Linked DNA regions of Homo sapiens: region 1 is linked to region 2. Evidence: promoter capture Hi-C in 16 types of primary human blood cells and fetal thymus (Javierre and others, 2016). All regions are on one chromosome and are shown on one strand. Each heading gives the region's core, a stretch centred on a gene start or on the middle of the fragment in contact. The rest is flanking DNA. Distances are from core to core; before and after follow the strand shown.

Region 1 (6,007 bases), core at 1-2,500, 320 kb after region 2:
AGCACATCTGAGCATGGCCGTTTGATGGGCTGTGGGCCATCCGGGCCAGGGCTGAGGTCTCCTTTGGCATCTGTGAGTGCGTGGTGCGGTCCACTATGTTTACTGTTGATGTCATGATTTATAGTGAGACATCTCCTCGCGTTATTAGACCCGATGCCACTTGGTGATGATGCAGAATTATTGAATAAGCCACTGGCTTCCAATTGCCTGTCTTTAAGCTTTTAGCATCTATAATAGGAAATTAGATTGCTCGGTGGTTTTCTTTTGGGGACTTAACTTTATCCAGTTTAAAATGAAGCCTAACAGTAAATACACACTGCAGGGCTTTCTAACTGCACCTGTGGACTGGGATAGTCTGAAGAATAGGATTTTTTCTCTCATTTCTGACAGCTGGGTTAAATTCAGTTATAAAGCCATCTGGGCCTGGGTACCTTTTTAATAATATCTCCTTCTTATTTATTTTTTGGGGGGGACAGGGTCTCACTCTGTAGCCCAGGCTGAAGTGCAGTGGCATAACCTCAGCTCATTGCAGGCTGAAATTCCCAGGCTCAAGCAATCCTCCCACCTCAGCCTCCCTAGTCGCTGGGACCACAGGCATGGGCCAACCATGCCTGGCTAATTTTATTTTTTCTTTTTGGAGATGGAGTCTCGCTTTGTCGCCCAAGCTGGAGTGCAGTGGCCCAGTCTCGGCACACTGCAAGCTCCGCCTCCTGGGTTCACGCCATTCTCTTGCTTCAGCCTCCTGAGTAGCTGGGACTACAGGCACCTGCCACCACACCTGGCTAATTGTTTTGTATTTTTTAGTAGAGATGGGGTTTCACTGTGTTAGCCAGGATGGTCTCGATCTCCTGACCTTGTGATCTGCCCGCCTCGGCCTCCCAAAGTGCTGGGATTACAGGCATGAGCCACTGCGCCTAGCCCATGCCTGGCTAATTTTTGTATTTTTAATAGAGATGGGGTTTCACTATGTTGGCCAGGCTGTTCTCGAACTCCTGACCTCAAGTGATCTGCCCGCCTCAGCCTCCCAAAGTGCTGAGATTATAGGCGTAAGCCACCCCGCCCGGCCATAAATGCTATATTTGAAGGCAATGAGAAAAGGATGGGTTTTACTTGATAACTCCATATGATTCGGGAGATTAGCTTCATGTAATCTGGAAGAAAACAAAGCTTACCCCCACTTCACATTGTACACAAAAATAAATGTTATATGGATTAAAAGTCCAAATGTGAAAAAGAAGAAAAGCTGAAGGCAGTTGTATAACCTCAGGGTTCTATGAAGAAGACAAGCCCAGAAGGAAAGGCACTGGGTCGACCACCTGTGTTAAAAGCTTTCTATGGAAACAGACATCCTATTCAAAAGCAAAAGACAAACTCTTTACCACACACACGACAGAAAACCAACCCTTACAAACTAATAAAAAATGTGTCTTTAAATTTGGAAAAATGGACAAAAGATATAAATATGAATTTTTAGAAGAAAAGATGAACAGTGTGAATAAACATTATAAGGGATTTGTCCTCAAAGCAAAACCCTGCCAGGTTCTCCCCCATTTGTTTGGAAGTGTGTTAAAGATGGGCAGTGGAGTGGGTTGGGGGATCCCAGGGGGACCCCACCCTGCCCTTTCCCGTGAGAGCAGAAGCCACCACGGTTTTTCCAGAAAGCAGTCTGGAAGAATTTATTTTCATACTTTATTATTTAATATTAAATGTAAACAACTCGTGCCCTTTGATGTCGGCGCCCTGCCTTGGGGACTCCACGCCTCGGAAATGGAAGCTCCTGGGATAAATGAGTCCTTTTGAAGGCAAACCCTGGCGGCCAGCAGCCGCCCAGAGCAAGAATGAGGGCCTGGGGCAGCCCCTGACGTGGGGCCGCAGAGCAGCGGGCAGAGAGCTGGGCTCCTGTATCTGAGGACGGAGGGGTTCCAGCCTGCGTGGTGGCCTGCGTGTGTTTGAGGGGGGCCCTGGGGAAAGTCACGCACCTCACGATTGAGGCCGACCCTCGGAACTGCACGTTTGGGGGTCCCCGGGGTTAGGATCTTGGGTGGATAGGAGGTAGCGCTGGGATCTTGGTGAGATCTGGAATCTTTCCTCTTCTGGGCCTCAGCCTCCTGCTTTGCAAGATGAGAAGGCCCTCATGGCCCAGAATCGATCTCCCCACGCTGTGCCAGTCGGGGGGATGGAAGAGGCTCAGATGTGACCCAGAGCTGCTGGGTCCCTGACAGCGCGGGTGGGAGCCGGGGGAGAGGAGCTGCCCCGCAGAGCCCAGGCTGACCCGGCTGCCGCTGTCTGTTCCGCAGGTGGCAGGGCTACGAGGGCTTCGTGGCGGTGCACAGCCTCCCCACCGTCGGCTGCAGGGACTGGGAGGCCTTCAGCACCACGGCTGGTGCCTACCTCATCTACTCCAGCGCCAAGGAGCCCCTCTCCAGGGTCCTGCGGCTGAGGACACGCTGAGGCCGCGGCTGCCCGGCAGCAACTGGGGTGGCCAGGTGGGGCGGGACCCCAGCACCTCCCCCAACTGACCCTGGACGTCCAGGTGGGCCCAGCCTAGGGCATCCCGGGCCTGGGCATCAGGCAGGGTGCAGGTGGGGCCATCTGCGGCCCTGGTTCGGGCAGGGACATCCATCCACCTCTGAGTCCTTCTGAGCCACAGCCCCAGTGACGGTCTGGTCTTGCAGGCAGAGGCCCAGAGCCCCTGCCAGTGCTCGCCCATCTGAGTGTCAAGCGGGGATTTCGCTGTCAAGGAACCGTTTCTATACATTTTTACCTCAAACAACAGGACCTCGGTTCATGTCCCTGCGGCTGGCCTCTCGCCAGCCACTCCTGCAGTGTGCGTCCGGCCGCCTGAGCAGGTGTGGTGCCGTCCCGCCATTGCCGCCACCTATTTATTGTGTTTTATCTGAACGGAAGTGTATTTATACTGCTCTTTACAAAAGCACCGGTGCTCCTCTCTAGGCAGCGGGTGGGCACAGCCCCTCACCACGGACACGGACAGAGGACCACCTCCCCATACAGAGAGAGGCTTCCCTCCCAGCCTCAGTTTACCCGTAAATGCACTAGCGCGAGGTCAGAAATCACAAGCCTGGGCATGGCCTGGGTCGCACCCCCTCCCCACGGCCCCACCCACAGGGACCTCAACTTCTGGGCCCGGGATTTTTTCCCTATTCAGCAGCATTTTAATCACATGTCCTCCAGCTGACTGGGACTCAGGCTGCGTGCCTCCGTCTGCCTGTGTGCTGGCTGTCCTAGCTCCCTGGTAACAGCATCCTCTGCTGGCTCTCCTGTGGTCATCTTGTCTCTGCAGCTGGGAGAGCTGCTTGTCTGTCCGTCACAGGCAGTGAGGATGAGAGGGGGTGATGGGCGCAAGGCCCCAGGGGTCCTCCCTCTTAACCCATGTAGGTGCCAGAGAAACCACCCCCACTCCATGAGAAGAGGCTCAGACAGCAGGCTCCGGGGCCACGCAGCCCAGACCACACCTGCCACGGTCTTCCAGGAACGGTGCTCCTGCTTCTGCAACACAAATCGGAACAGGAGCGATCCTCAGAGAGTTTACAATGTGCTTTTTCCGCCAATCAGAACTGTGGACAAAACTTCCTATTTCCTACACCGCAGCTGTCTGTTCACCTTCAGCTCAGAGAGCACTCCTGACCTTTCGTAATGAAATGGAAGCCTCCCCTTGTCTGGCAAATAATAAACTCAGTGTCTACTTTTGCCGGCTTTGGGACCTTCGTGTTTTTCCGGGGCTCAGGTCTCACTCCAGCCATCGCTGTGGCCAGTGGAGAGCCACTCCCCTCTGGGGGCAGTCGCCGAGAGCCTCCTTCCCCTCCGTCCAGCCAGCAAGGCTTTCCCAAGCGTCCTGGGCAGGAGGGTTGGGCCCTGCTTTCCACCAAGTCACTCAGAAGGTCCCAATCACACATGATTGGCCTCATTGGGTCAGCACCTGTGAAAGGAAGATTAAAAACTCGACACCCCAATTCACTCAACCAAGAAGAAAAAAGCTGAAAGCTGAGTCCTGCAGGAAGCTGCCTTTCCCTTTGCCCTAAGCAGACAGCTGCAGATGAGAGGGTCAGCATCTCCACTAGTGGCTGCTCTGTGTGCCCCTTATCTCATGGAAAGTGCCAATTTACTGAGCACGAGATAAACAGGTAACTGACTGTTCCCACCTGCTCCTTTTCTCCTGCAGCATGGAGCAATCAGTCATGTGACCACACCCTCCTCCCTCTGCCCCCTCCAGCCGGCTTTTCCCCTTGACTGAAGCCTTCAACATCATCTTGGGAGAGAGGCACAGACCTGTCTCCTGGGTGCATCCTTAGCCTTGGCAAAATAAACTTCTCCATTGATCGAGGCCTGGGTCGGGTACTTTTTTGGTTTGCAGACTCACCCACATGCTTTTCCAGTTGGGCCTTGCTCTTCTCTTGTTTGAGTAATTTGTTTCTGTTCATGTGAGGCTGACGGTGTCGCAACTGTTCCAACTCCCATCTCTCAGCCAGATCCCTTCATTCCCCAAACTGTTCTAGATCTGGACTTATTTTGGAAATCAGAGCCTGGCTTGAGTGGCTGAAAATCTAAGAACTTCTGGGTAAAGTTACCACTCAGTGTTTGGAGCACAAAACTGAAAGTGTCTGAGCCAGGTCTCAGTCAGCTTAGAGGGTTATGATGCCAAGGTTGAGAATCTGCCCAGGAAAAAGTGGCACCAGTCACAGCAGGACCTGTGGCCAGGCCTTTTCCAGAGAGCATTTTGAGGTGCTGAGTATTTAAAAGAGGAGGAGAGGAGAGGGCAGGGGGAAGGGGGAGAGAGAAGACGGTGGGTGGGCAATGAGGCCAGTGGTCAGGCTCCTGGGAGGCTTTAATTAGCACGCACTGAGTGCACGTTGCAAGTGAAAGGGGGAGGTGGGGGAACAGCCCTTTAGGCACTCACCTGGCACTCAGCAAACCTGCATCTGACGTCAGATAGAGTAGACACAGAAAAGAAGAAAAAGCCAAGCCTGTGTTTTTCTCGAGTGTTTAACCAGAAGTCACGGCTGGAGACACAAAAGCACCTCCTGGCCTATGCAATTTTGTTCCTTTACTGCTTTAAACAAGCAAGATGTGGTTTTATTCCTTTAGTAGCTGGTGGTGTTGGCTCTGTGTCCCTGAACAAAAATAAAAGCAAGCCCTAGTCTTTTGTCCCACACTCGCGAGGATCAGCTGCTCATCGACACTGTCAGAGTGTGGGAGGCCTCCCGGGGAGATACATGGCCGGCCGTCTTGCAAGCTCTCTGTTCAGAAACAGACTGGTTCTCCTGAGAGGCAGGTTTTGCGTGACGCCATTTCCAAGCTTTCCCTTTCCCTTTGGAACAGTGAGTTTGGCATCTCAGGATTCTGTTTGCCTTTCACAGGAGGGAGAAGCTCCAGACGTGGGCTCGCCGCTGTCCTTCCATGCCCCCTCTTGGATGGAATCAGTGGGCCCTGGGGCCCCGCCCACCTCCCCAGTCTTCCCCTGGGGTTGAGAAGAGCACTTTTCTGTCTTGTTAGCCACGATTTCAAGCCAACGTTGCAAAAGCTCTGATTTCCTGGATCGTGGGGAAGCCCGTCTGGGCGCCCCAGCAGCACGTAGTTCAAACACCTCTCCTGGCACCGGGGAGCGGTTCCAGCGTGCCCTTCTGAGAACCTTCTTCAACTGCACTTGCAGTCAGTGTGTTTTCTCTTGTGTAATTGGAATCAGGACCTTTTGAATCCTACCTGCAAATTTATGCAAACAATATGCAAAAACTTGTGACAAAAATTGGCAAAGGAAGACCTTTTGCGGGTGAAGCACAACTGTCACCTAATGGCTCTCAGGGGTGGTTGGGGCGGTGGCGCAGGTGAGAACTGACGTTTGGTCGGGGTCTGTAGCGGTGGTGGGAGGTGTTGGGGTCTTCCTCCTCCCCTGCCCCGCAGTGTGGGAGTAGCCAGTGAAAGTGCAGAGTTGGGGGCTCCCTGTCTCTTCTTCACTGTGGAGGCATCTTCAGAGCTGGGGAGAGGGCGGGAT
Region 2 (5,738 bases), core at 2,383-4,882:
TAGAACTGTCTGGAGGCTGGGAAATAACTATCAATGGTTTAAGCTGCCCAGTCTGTATTATTTATTTATTTTTTTTTGAGACAGAGTTTCACTCTTGTTGCCCAGGCTGCAGTGCAATGGTGCTATCTTGGCTCACCACAACCTCCGCCTCCCAGGTTCAAGCGATTCTCCTGCCTCAGCCTCCCGAGTAGCTGGGATTACAGGCATGCGCCACCATGCCCGGCTGATTTTGTATTTTTAGTAGAGATGGGGTTCCTCCATGTTGTTCAGGCTGGTCTCAAACTCCTGACCTCAGGTGATCTGCCTGGCTCAGCCTCTCAAAGTGCTGGGATTACCGGCGTGAGCCACCGCGTCCGGCCCCCGGTCTGTATGTTTTTATGGAAGTCTAGGCTAACACAGGATACTAATCACCAAGTGCCTCAAAGGAAAAAAACTCTTCCCTTTTCTTTTTGAGGTGGGGGAAGGTCTTTGCCCCTCACAGAAAGACTTCTTTTGGTAGCTGATAGCCTTAAACAGATTTAAAGAATATTTTATACTGATTTTTGGGCTATTTTTGTTGGGTTTGTCTGAGGCAACCAGTCCTCCCTAACTGTAAGTAGAAACGTCTCTGAACGCCTCAGGGATTTCTCCTCACATGCCAAGCATCTGTGTCAGTCTTCTCACTCAGCCATTGGATACTCAGGGGCCCTTTCCATTTATGGAGTCAAATATTTCTTTAGTTCAGAGAAATTTCTTATTTTTACTTTTTCTTTGAGATAGGGTCTTGCCCTGTTGCCCAGGCTGGAGTGCAGTGGTGCGACCTTGGCTCACTGCAGCTTCTGCCTCCTGAGTTCAAGCTGATTCTCCAGCCTCAGGCTTCCAAGGAGCCAGAATTACAGGCACACACAACCACACTCAGCTAATTCTTGTATTTTTAGTAGAGATGGGGTTTCACCATGTTGCTCAGGCTGGTCTCAAACTCCTGACCTCAGGTGATCCGCCTGCCTCAGCCTCCCAAAGTGCTGGGATTACAAGCGTGAGCCACCGTGCCTGGCCTCAGAGATATTTTCTCCAATTCTGTCTTTGATTTTGTCCTGGTTTCCTTTTTTCCACCTTCTCCTGCAGCTCCTGTCAGGTGGACGTAGCCCTTCCTGTACTGATGCCCGGTGTCTCGGCCTTCCAACCTTCCCTCTCTCTTTTCTTTTTTTTTGAAATGGAGTCTCACCCTGTTGCCCAGGCTGGAGTGCAGCGGCACGATCTTAGCTCACTGCAACCTCTGCCTCCTGGGTTTAAGCGATTCTCCTGCCTCAGCCTCCCAAGCAGCTGGGATTACAGGCATGCGCCACCAGGCCCGGCTAATTTTTTTGTGGAGACGGGGTTTCACCATGTTGACCAGGCTGGTCTCGAACTCCTGACCTTGTAATCCACCAGCCTCAGCATCCCAAAGTGCTGGGATTACAGGCATGAGCCACCCAGCCCAGCCCTGACCTTTCCTCTCTTAACTTCTCCATCATGGGAGAGTCCTGTGACTTTGTCTCGCAGTTCTTTGCGTCCTCAGCCAGGACCCCTCTCCTAGTCACATGTGGGTCGAGCTTTCATGTCAGCAATGCTGTTACTCATTTGCCAGTTCCCTGCCTTCTCATGAGTCTTCTTGTTGGGACCATCGCCAGGTGTGGCGACCCTCCGGAGGGGCTCTGGCCATTTGGGTTCTTTACCCTGTGCTCGTGGTAGGCCACGGTTTTTCCTGAGCTCTGGTTCCTCCGTCCATTCGATCCCCTTTGGCTGTGTCCTTCAGAAACCTCTTGGCGTTCGGTCCACCAGCGGTGTCCTTTGTGTCCCCACAGCTGCGACAGAGCCTTTTTGCATCTTTGCTGTCACATGAAGGATTCGGGGCAGGTCACAGTGTGGGAGACAGACACAGCATGAATTGAATTCAGACCACCATTGTCTTATAGCCTGGCTTTTTAAAACCTAATGTCATCTGAGCCTCTTTTTCCCTTATCCATGACTGTAGTCACGCATCACTTCGTGACACAGCAACTGGCGTAATTTCGAGCGGTAACACATTTGGGTTCTGTGTCTCATGATTTCTAAGCTGCGTGTTTCTCACTTCCACAACACTGAAGCGGGCTGCCGTCATCCACAGCCTGCCGGAGTTTAGTGTGTCTGTGCTACCTACGGTCGTGTTGTTTTATGATTAACGGTGTCTTGGAGTCGATAACTCTCTGAACCCTGCCTGCCCTAGGGCACTTCCAGGGCCAGCAATCTGTGGGCTCTGAGGCGCCACGTCCCCTCGGAAGGGGCTGGTTGCGGAGCCCCCTCCCAGGACCGTCTGAGCTGGCCACCCACCTCCACATCCTCTGCTGAGGCCCTGGGCTCCAGGTTCCAGAAGGAAGGGACCACACCTTATGACCTGCCTGGGACTGGGGCTGACTCTCAGACCCTCTCCCCGAAAGACTTCAGCAGCCTTCCCCCTCCTAAGTGGGGGCTCTAGCCAAGAAAGTGAATTTTTGAGTAGAAGACGGTTTGTGAAGTTATGGTCCATGAAGACTTGTCTCCATGGCTTTGCGACGTTGCTCAGTTGGCTGAGCCTTTCCCAGGCAGGACAGAAACGGCTCAGACGCTTAGGTTCAAATCCAGGCCCTGCCATTTCCCAGCTGAGCCTGAAGTGCGGCCTCCCCCGCCTTCGGCCGGGCTCACCATCAGATGAGACCTCCGCCACGCCCCGGCTGGCACCACCCGGGCACTCCTGAGGGACGCAGGGGTGTCCGCCCTCAGGTCCGTTCCATCCGAGGCCCTGGGATCACAGACATGGAGGCCGGGGCGGGCCAGGCACCCCAGGAATGGCGCCCGCAAGTCCGGGGAGGCCGTCCTGCCGGCCCAGCGCGTTTCCCGCGTCCACGAGGTCCCCGTTCCGCCGGCACTGGCGGCGTCCAGCCTGGGTTTGCCCGCGCTCGCCGACGTGGCGGCCTGGCCAAGCTCGGCGCCGCTCACCAGCGCTGACCTGGGGGTGGTTTGACCTCCCAGTGCCTCAGTTTCTTCACAGGTAAAACGGGTCTTCTTGAGGACGGGTGTGGAGGGCCCGGGGCAGCCCCGTAGGAGCGTTGGCCAAAGGAGCCCGGCCTGGGGCTGACAGGAAACCGCGGCGGCAGGGAGGCGGGTGGCGCCCCCAATCGTCTAGGGTGCTGGCCCGATTCGCGCGGCCCCCGCGGACGGGACCCCGCGGGCCGCCTTCTCCGCTCTGTCCGCGGCTCCTGAGAGGGAACGTCACCCCCAGCGTCCTCCCTCCTCCGCCCCAGGTCCCTGCGGCCATGGGCGGCGGCCCCGGCCTCACTTCCCGGCGCCCCAGGAACGCGGCCCCCAGGAAAGGAGTCGGGGCCCGGGCGACGCGGGGAGGCGGGCAAGGGTCCCCAGGGCCCGGGCTCCCCGTAAACGCTCCTGGCCCGCGCCCCACAGCGCCCTAGGGCTTCCGCGCCCGACGGGGTCGCGCGGGACCCGCCCCGTGACGCATCTCCAACCGCCCAGAGCCGCGGCCCGGCCTGCGCGCGCCCGACGCCCCGGGGAGCGCGCCTCGTGAACGCGCGCAGCCACGTGACCCCCGTGCCGGCCAACGGGTGCGCCGGGATTTGGGGGATAAAGCGCGGCCCCGCGCACAGTTGCGGCGGGAGAGCGGCGGGGCCGAGAGCGTGACTCGCCCGCTCCGCGCTGCTTCCCCCGCGCCGCCTCCCCGCGCCGCTCGCGCAGCCATGTCCGAGGAGAAGCCCAAGGTAAGCGCGGCGACCCCGCCTGCACGCGCGTCTATCGCGGGCGTCCCGCCCCCAGCCCGGCTCCGCCCCCACCCCGACTCCGCCCCGCGTCCCGCCCCTGACAGGCTCCGCCCCTCCCCGCCCTCTAGAGCCCCGCCCCTAAGTGGGCCCGCCCAAGGTGCGCCCCCTCTGCCCCCGCGAAGCGCGCTGTGCCGCGAGCTCCGCCCCCTCCGGGCCTGGCCACGCCTCCGCTCCACGCCCGTCTCCTCCCCAGCTGGGAAGGCGCGCGCCCAGCGCCTCCTTGAGCGCCCGGTGTCGGGCCCCGCGCTGCTGCTCCTGCAGAGCGCGGCGCCCTCGGATCCCGCCCCAGCAGTGTCCCCGAAGCGTCTTTGCGTGCTCCTCTCCTGAGTCATTGCTGGTTGGGGTCGCCCTCTCCCCCGGCATCGCCCTGGGTGCGGGATCCTGTGTCGAGTGCACGGAGTCGGCTCGGGAACAAGCGTCTGGGGTTACCCCCAAGGGGCGCGCTCTGAGGGGCCTGGCCCCTGTGAGCAGCACTGCCGTCCTTCCAGGGCGCCCATCGCGACCCCGGTATTCACCCACTTCTCCGCATCGTGTCCCGGCCATCGCGTCCCCCAGTGTGCGCCCACCCCTCTCCTTCGTGTCTCCCCAATCGTGCCCTCAGTGTGCACCTACTCCCACCCATCGCGCCCCGTGTGCACCCACCGCCTCCATCGCGTCCCCCGGTGTGCGCCCACCCCTCCCCATCGCGCCCCCCGGTGTACGCCCACGCCTCCCCATCACGCCCCCCATGGTGTGTACCCACTCCTCCCCATCATGCCACCTGGTGTGCGCCCACCCGTCCCCATCATCGCGTCCCTGGTGTGCGCCCACCCCTCCCTATTGCGTCGCCCTCTCCATCACACCCCCAGTGTGTGCTCACCCCTCCCCGTCGCGTCCCCCAGTGTGCGCCCACCCCTATCCATCGCGTCCCCCTTTCCATCACACCCCCAGTGTGCGTCCACCCCTCCCCATCACCCCCTCCACGATGTGCGCCCACCCCTCCCCATCACGCCCCCTATAGTGTGTGCCCACCCCTCCCTATCACGCCCCACGGTGTGCGCCCACTTCTCTGCATTGCGCCTCCCCCACCATGCGCGCCCACCCCTCCTTATCCAGCCTTGGGTGGGCTTTAGTCTCCCCCATTGCCATGCTGGGGTGTGCCTCCCTCCAGTCTCAGTCCTGGGGTATGCACCCTGCATTCAGGTGCACTGGCCATTCCTTCTCGGGAGGGTCTGTAGTCGCATTCTCCAGTGTTCATAAAAAGAGAACCTTTCCGAAGCCCTTGGTGTGCACTGTCGGCCTCTATGTTACATCCCAGTGGAAGATGACTAGAGCTGAAGGCTCTGTAAAGAGGCTGTCTCTGATACTGGCCTGGTCCTGGAGGTGACCACCCTCCCTTTACAGATGAGGGTGGAGGCTCAGTGCCAGACACTGGCGGGAAGTGGGATGGAACCGTCAGGAACCATGGTCGCGGCCTCTATGGAAGTCTGCACTCTGCTTGCTGTGGTCAGACTCCAGGGAAACCTGCCCTATCCAGATGGCATTTGGGGTGACCTTTGCTTTTTACATTTTGACTCCAGTGAAGTCAAAGTTCTCCCACTCTGGGGTTGTTTGAATATTTAAATACTTGTTAAAACTAGGTCAAATATAAATGTCCTTTATGTTTTTGTAGGTGGCTTCCTCTTAATGAAGAGTAAATGTAATAAAATACATATGATATTAATTTTCTCAGCAGTATTTACACTTAGCTCTGCCATGTGGTCAATCTCAGGCTCCAGTTCCGTTGAAAACACTTGTTTAATTCCAGAATGACTGAGTGGCTGCCACCTCACAGGCCCCGCTTCTGGTGGGTCCCCTCTGAGCCCATGTGGGAGCAGCTCTGCCCTCTGGGGCTCTGACGAAGGGGAAGAGGTGGACTCTGGGGCCCGGTGGTGCTGGAAAGAAGAGCTTTTA

What was found. The method cuts DNA at HindIII sites, captures the fragments that hold promoters and counts their contacts. A CHiCAGO score of 5 or more calls a contact.
Region 1: a contact is called between a fragment that was not itself captured here and the fragment with the promoter of SUMO3 in region 2, in 5 of 17 cell types (total CD8 T cells, naive CD4 T cells, naive CD8 T cells and 2 more). The highest score is 8.0, in total CD8 T cells.

Annotation. Positions count from the first base shown.
Region 1 is chr21:44,496,227-44,502,233 of GRCh38, reverse strand. It overlaps TSPEAR (thrombospondin type laminin G domain and EAR repeats), which reads left to right. Exons shown (of 12, transcript NM_144991.3): 12 at 2,298-4,341. The coding sequence ends at 2,451. Among named protein-coding and RNA genes, the nearest start is that of TSPEAR-AS1, 6.8 kb to the left of the region's middle. The HindIII fragment of the contact is 161 bases long and covers 1,170-1,330 here.
Region 2 is chr21:44,815,956-44,821,693 of GRCh38, reverse strand. It overlaps SUMO3 (small ubiquitin like modifier 3), which reads left to right and starts at 3,632. Exons shown (of 4, transcript NM_006936.3): 1 at 3,632-3,746. The coding sequence starts at 3,726. RefSeq lists silencers at 3,021-3,120, 3,141-3,720, 3,901-4,100. The HindIII fragment of the contact is 14,551 bases long and covers 1-5,738 here.